Regions from separate parts of the Homo sapiens genome. Here region 2 is linked to region 1. Evidence: promoter capture Hi-C in 16 types of primary human blood cells and fetal thymus (Javierre and others, 2016). All regions are on one chromosome and are shown on one strand. The core of a region is centred on a gene start or on the middle of the fragment in contact, and the rest is flanking DNA. Distances in the headings are between cores, read along the strand shown.

The links. Contacts are between HindIII fragments. The CHiCAGO score rates a contact against its expected background, and 5 or more counts as called.
Region 2: a fragment that was not itself captured here is called in contact with the fragment with the promoter of MDFIC in region 1 in 3 of 17 cell types (total B cells, M1 macrophages and naive B cells); the score reaches 6.7 in total B cells.

What each region holds. Positions count from the first base shown.
Region 1 is chr7:114,920,504-114,923,416 of GRCh38, reverse strand. It overlaps MDFIC (MyoD family inhibitor domain containing), which reads right to left and starts at 1,323. Exons shown (of 5, transcript NM_001166345.3): 1 at 781-1,323; 2 at 290-490. The coding sequence starts at 383. RefSeq lists silencers at 304-443, 674-853, 864-913, 1,244-1,383. The HindIII fragment of the contact is 10,461 bases long and covers 266-2,913 here.
Region 2 is chr7:115,475,761-115,478,460 of GRCh38, reverse strand. No RefSeq gene overlaps it. Among named protein-coding and RNA genes, the nearest start is that of SNORA25B, 100 kb to the left of the region's middle. The HindIII fragment of the contact is 3,063 bases long and covers 1-2,700 here.

The DNA of each region.
Region 1 (2,913 bases), core at 74-2,573:
CCCAAACATGCATATGCTTAAGAAAGAAGCAATCCTGTCATCCTGTTTCTTCGCAACCAAAGGAAGGGGGAGTGGAGGGACCAACGGTTCCCGCCCTCTTACCCGGTTGTTGATCTAGGGCAAGGATCCTGAAGAACTTGCCTGAGTAACGCGAACTGTGCAAAAGTTCTCAACTACGAGTGGGAGCCCCTCCTCACAGCACTCCCCCCACCCCTATCTGTGCACTTGTGAGCAAACTGAAAAATGCAACAATGACAAAGAAGCTTGCCACTTGCAAGCGCGCACTCACCCTGGGCTGTGGAGCCCAGCTGGCCGCCGCCCGCCTCGGCCACGCGCTGCGGCCCCACGGGCCCGGGAGCGAGGGCTTCGCCCGCGCCGGACATGGGCCGCTCCGCCGAGCCCGCGCCGCGCCGCTGCCGCCTAGCTCGCCGCCCGGCAGGGCGCACGGAGGAAGGGCTGTGAGGTGCTGGGTGCAGGGAACTGACTGCTTCTGGCGGAAAAATATACAAAATTAAAAAAAAAAATGTTTTTAGAGAAGAGCACACCACCCCTGCGGGACGTTCCCTCCCCCTCCACTTCCCTCCCTCAAACTCCACCCCGGGGAAGTTTTGATTTGAAACTTGCGAAGAAAACTGTTACAGCGCAAGTTGACAGCGGCGGGGTCCCAGGGGTCCGAGGTGGACCCAGCGGGGAGGGGCTGGAAAGAGAGATCGGGTTTGGGAGAACCCCGGGGATGGGGATCAAACCCCTCCTCTTCCCCGCCCGGAGACCACTACCTACCTCCGCATCCCCCCGTAGTCGCTCCAAGCCCCTTCCTCCTCCTCCTCCTCCTCTTCCGCCCCGGAAAGTTAGCGAGCCTCCGGCAGCGGCCGCATTTTCGCCCCGGTGGCCTGACGACGGCGGCGGCCGCCCCTGCGCGTCCTCCCGCCTCCCTCCGGCTCAGCCCAGACGCCGCAGTGGCGGCAACTGCGGCAGCGGTGGCGGCTCTGACTCCGCGCACTCCGCCCCCTCTTTCCAGCCAGCTCACTCCAGCCGGCTCCCCTGCGAGGGGGCCTTCCCCCTCTCTGCCTCTCTTTCCCCTCTTCCACTCCTACAATCCTGAAACACTTCTCCCTCTGTTGCTCTTTTTCATCACATCCGGATCGGGAAGGCCTCGAACTCTTGGCTAGCGGCCCCGATGCTGGGAGCGGCGCGACCCGGGCTCGGCCGCGCGATCCCTCGCGCCCTGCGCTGTCTGGGTCAGGAGGCCAGAGCCGGCCTGGGCTGGCTCGGGCTCCCCACCCGGGCGCTGCGCCCTCCCGGGGCTGGGAAAGGGGAGTGAATGGGCAGGTCCCTGGCTGCCCAGACGTTCCCCCCACCCCGCCCAAAAAGTCACCTCATCCCTTCTCCCTACTCCTGCCCCCAGACCGACGGAGGCTTTGGGAATATCCTGACGAAAACCTTTAGGGTGGACAAGGAAAAACGAAAACACTGTTACAGTATCGAACTTTCCTGGTGGGATAGAGAACGTGTGCGTTTGAAACCTTGACCCCTCGGTTGAACGTTTACTCACTTCATCTCTGGCTCCTAAATTACTCTTTGGTCAAACAGTATTCCTGATGTAAAACCAGTTGCAGTTTGCGCGAATCTGCTGGAGGCATCCAGGCAAACAAGGTTGGCACCCTTGCGGATGCCGTGGTACTGGCCCCAGCCTGGCCTATGGCAAGCTAAATGCCTCACTGGATCAGTGGTATCTGAGGGGAGATAAACTTGTGGTCGGAAGTAAAAAGCTGATCAACTTTCCGTTTATAAATGAGACATTCTGATTGTAGCTTAATCTGATGAGCCGAGGATAGCAAGTGTAAAGTAATTTACAGATATATAGTACTTTAGTGGTATACTCAGATAACTTTTGCTCTTTTATTTCATTGTGAATGAAATGCAGAATTCATTTGTAGAAAGCTAGAACGAACTCATTCTTCGATTCTTTTGGACAAGCGAGGAATCACAGTAACGTTATCAAAACTGAAGAAAATGTGCATTGGATTCACTGTCTTTCTATGTGCATCATTAATAATATCCCAGAAATTTCATTTTTTCAAAAAGCTCATTGGAATTTATTCCAATTGATTACAAAGATTTACTTGTTACCTATGAAGAGACAGTGCATTCTAACTTGATTTCAATGATGGTAAAAAAGCCAGCCTTCGGCCGGGAGCGGTGGCTCACGCCTGTAATCCCAGCACTTTGGGAGGCCGAGGCAGGTGGATCACCTGAGGTCAAGAGTTCGAGACCAGCCTGGCCAACATGGTGAAACCCAATCTCTACTAAAAATACAAATATTAGCTGAGCATTGTGGCGGGCGCCAGTAATTCTAGCTACTGGGAGGCTGAAGCAGGAGAATCGCTTGAACACAGGAGGCAAAGGTTGCAGTGAGAAGAAATTGTGCCATTGCACTCCAGCCTGGGCGACAAGAGCAAGACTCCATTTAAAAAAAAAAAAAAAAAAAAAAAAACAGCCTTCAAAGTTGCTGATGACAGTCATTCAGACCATTCTCCCCAAAAAGACAAATGACATTTTGCCCCATTACACATAACTAACATTTTTTTTTCACTTGGAGATTTCAGAAATGGTATGAAATCAAGTGCATTACCTCTCTTGAAAACTTATCTAGGAGCCTGGACTGTTTGGAATTTGTCTGATGGAAGCAGATCAGTTCTGAAGATGACTTCATCACCACTAGAGAACAAACATTTAGGACGTCTCAGAGTTCACTGCAGCATCATCTGCACTCAAAGGAGTTGTTTACCTGCTCTGGAAAATTCTGTTTTATCCCTGTATCATTCCTTGCCCTATTTTTAAAATTCTCTCACAAAGATGTTAAAGTCCAATAATATAAAGAAGTTACAGCTTTCTTCTAGAAAGTCATAATCA
Region 2 (2,700 bases), core at 7-2,506, 560 kb before region 1:
ATTAACCCTTTGGTAATGGAATATGTTTGAGAAACAATATGGAATCTGTCTTATTTTCAGGAGCATTATTGAATTTGTAGATAAGCTACACGAAAACAATCAGTGTTATGAGTTATTATCTTACAAATTATATATCATTCACATGCAATAAGTGAAATATTTCTCATTTTAAATTTCAATAGTTAAAATTTAGAATTTCAAATTGTATAGGAAGAGAATGCCAAATTATGGCAAAACTTGTGCAGAAATACAAGAAATTAGAAATCAAAGGGGACTTTAGGACATCTAAATTTTCTCACACATATCTACTTGAATGAATAAACTTAGTAATGCAGAATAAGGAAAAAAGCAAACTCTAAGATTAAGTGCCGATGACAGTATGTTATTTGATAATCAGTTAAGACCATTTCCTCTTCCATTCAAAACTTTAAAAAAATGAAAGAAATGTTTCTCTATTTCTTCCTCAATGGAACAAGGAGCATCACCTCTCCTTATTTCCCCGAGGTACAGAAAATAGTAAAGAGCAAATTAGTTCTCTCAGCCTAAAAAAAATACAATTTTATAGTTATAAAGTGTTTTCAATAACAAACGTGTTCCGCAGATAATTCCGAGGACATCGAATTTTGATCTTTAGAGTCTCAAGGCAAAAAGCTCAGAGCACTGTTAGTCAAGGGCGCCCAGATGAGCTGCTTTGGGGGACCCTCTTTGCCCCCAGTGCCCTTCTAAAGAGCATTGCCTTCGTCAGCCCCAGGCTAGCCCTCCTTAGCCTCTCCGAAGGCTTCTCCGCAGATCTCTTTTTCCGCCCCCCCCCCCCCAGCTCAACCCCACCAACCCTTAGGACCCCGCCTTGTCCCCTGCCTTCCCGCCCCTTCCCTGTCCACGCCCGCTGGGCTTCGCTGCGCGCCTCCAGGGACGCGGGCTGCACCGAGACTCCACTGCGCCGCGCGGCCCAGAGAGAAGTTAACTTGGAGCGCAGGAGCTTTTCTCGGGATCTCCACGGAGGCAGCCGAGACGCCTCAACCCTCCCGTCTCGGCTCCTTTTTGGGGAGTGCAAGCCTGGGACGGGGCACTTGGAATAAACCCACCGACCGAGCTGGGCCCCCAGAGTCTTTCAGGCCCCTCAACTCTCCTCCAGGCGCCCCAGTACCCGTTCTGCCCCCCAGCACCTTCTTTAGCTCACGTCTGGCGGCTCGCTCTTGTCCTGGAGAGGAGTCTGACCCCACCTCGGTGGTGAAGTTTACATTCTAAATTAGTTAATTGGTCTTTAAAAGATTTCCAAACACACCAAAGCTCTTTATCTACTTTCTATTTCAAAACTCTGTCTCCCTTTTTCCCTCCCTCCTTCCTTTTCATTTTCTCTTTCTCTCGCCCACCCTCCACCCCACCCCCCCACACACTATTTATTGGTTACAAAATCCCGTAGAAGTGTAATACACACACAGACACACACCCAGCCCCGCTGCTCTTTTAGTGCCTGTGACCTTGAAGCCGTGATGAGCCAGGGAGACGCTGCAAATGTACAGGCTCCACCAGATGAGGGACTTTGATGCTGGGGGGAGCTCTGGGGTCAAGCGCAGAAAGGGGAAATAAATGGTAAAATCACTGTCTCTAGACTCCTCAGATAAAATGGAAACAAGCACTTGGCATTTTCAGTACTGACAACCTGGCTTGTTTGTTCACTCTAATGAGCACTCTGGCTCCATTAATGAGCAGACTGAATCCATTATCATCATCATTTCAAAAGGCAGCGTGCCACTAAATAGCTTCCCATATTAGCAGGCATTGCCCTTGTTGTTCCATTTGATCAGCAGTGGCAGCAGGGAGCCCGCTGCACTCCCATTTTTTTTTTTCAGCTGGGAAATTAGCAAGTGAAAATTAGTCCCCTCAAAAAAATAAAATAAAATAAAATAAAAAAGGTACTATCGTGACCCCGAGAAAAAGCCATAATCTAGGATAACAGCGAGGTGATGAGAATTTGAGAAAGGGAGCGGTGATTTGGGAGGGGACAAAAGGAAGCCCTTTGGAATCAGCAAGTTTTTTTTTTTAATAGATAAACAGGAGTCCATGGAGAAAGGAAGACTCGTGTTTTTTTTTTTTCTTCCTTCTATCAGCACCTTTCTTGAGACATCAAAGAACCAATTAACTCTGTAGCAAATTGGGTGGCAGCGCTTACACTGGAAGGCTGTTGAGGGCAGCAAAGTCTCGCAGTGCAGCCTCTGACTGCTGGTGACAGGGCTCTCCTCCCCTCTCTCTTCTCTTTTTCTCCTTTCCTCTCTTCTCTCTTCCCCGCCTCTCCTCTCTCTTTCTTCTCTCTCTTTTCTCTGGTCTTTCCACCTTTCCTTCCTTCCTTCCTTGCTTCTTTCTTCTCTCCAGTCTCCTTCCCGCGCTCTCGCTCTTTCCCTTTTTAAACTGCAGTTCCTGAATGTATGCCATTCTCCAGACCTACGTTCTGTTCAAGGATTTTAATTAGGCCTTGACTCCACATTACTGTGTGTGCCTTTGTGGGTTGGTGAATGGCACCAGAGTGGTGAATCCCGCTTCCTGCAGCACTAGGCAGCCGTGTAAGAAATATTCTTTCAGCGGCGGACGCGCCACTTCACTACAGTCTGTCTTTTCACTCCCTTCCTTTGGCTTTTGTGCCTTTTGAAATTATTAAAATGTTAACATGCCTGCAGAGCCTTTGATATTTAAGACAAAAGA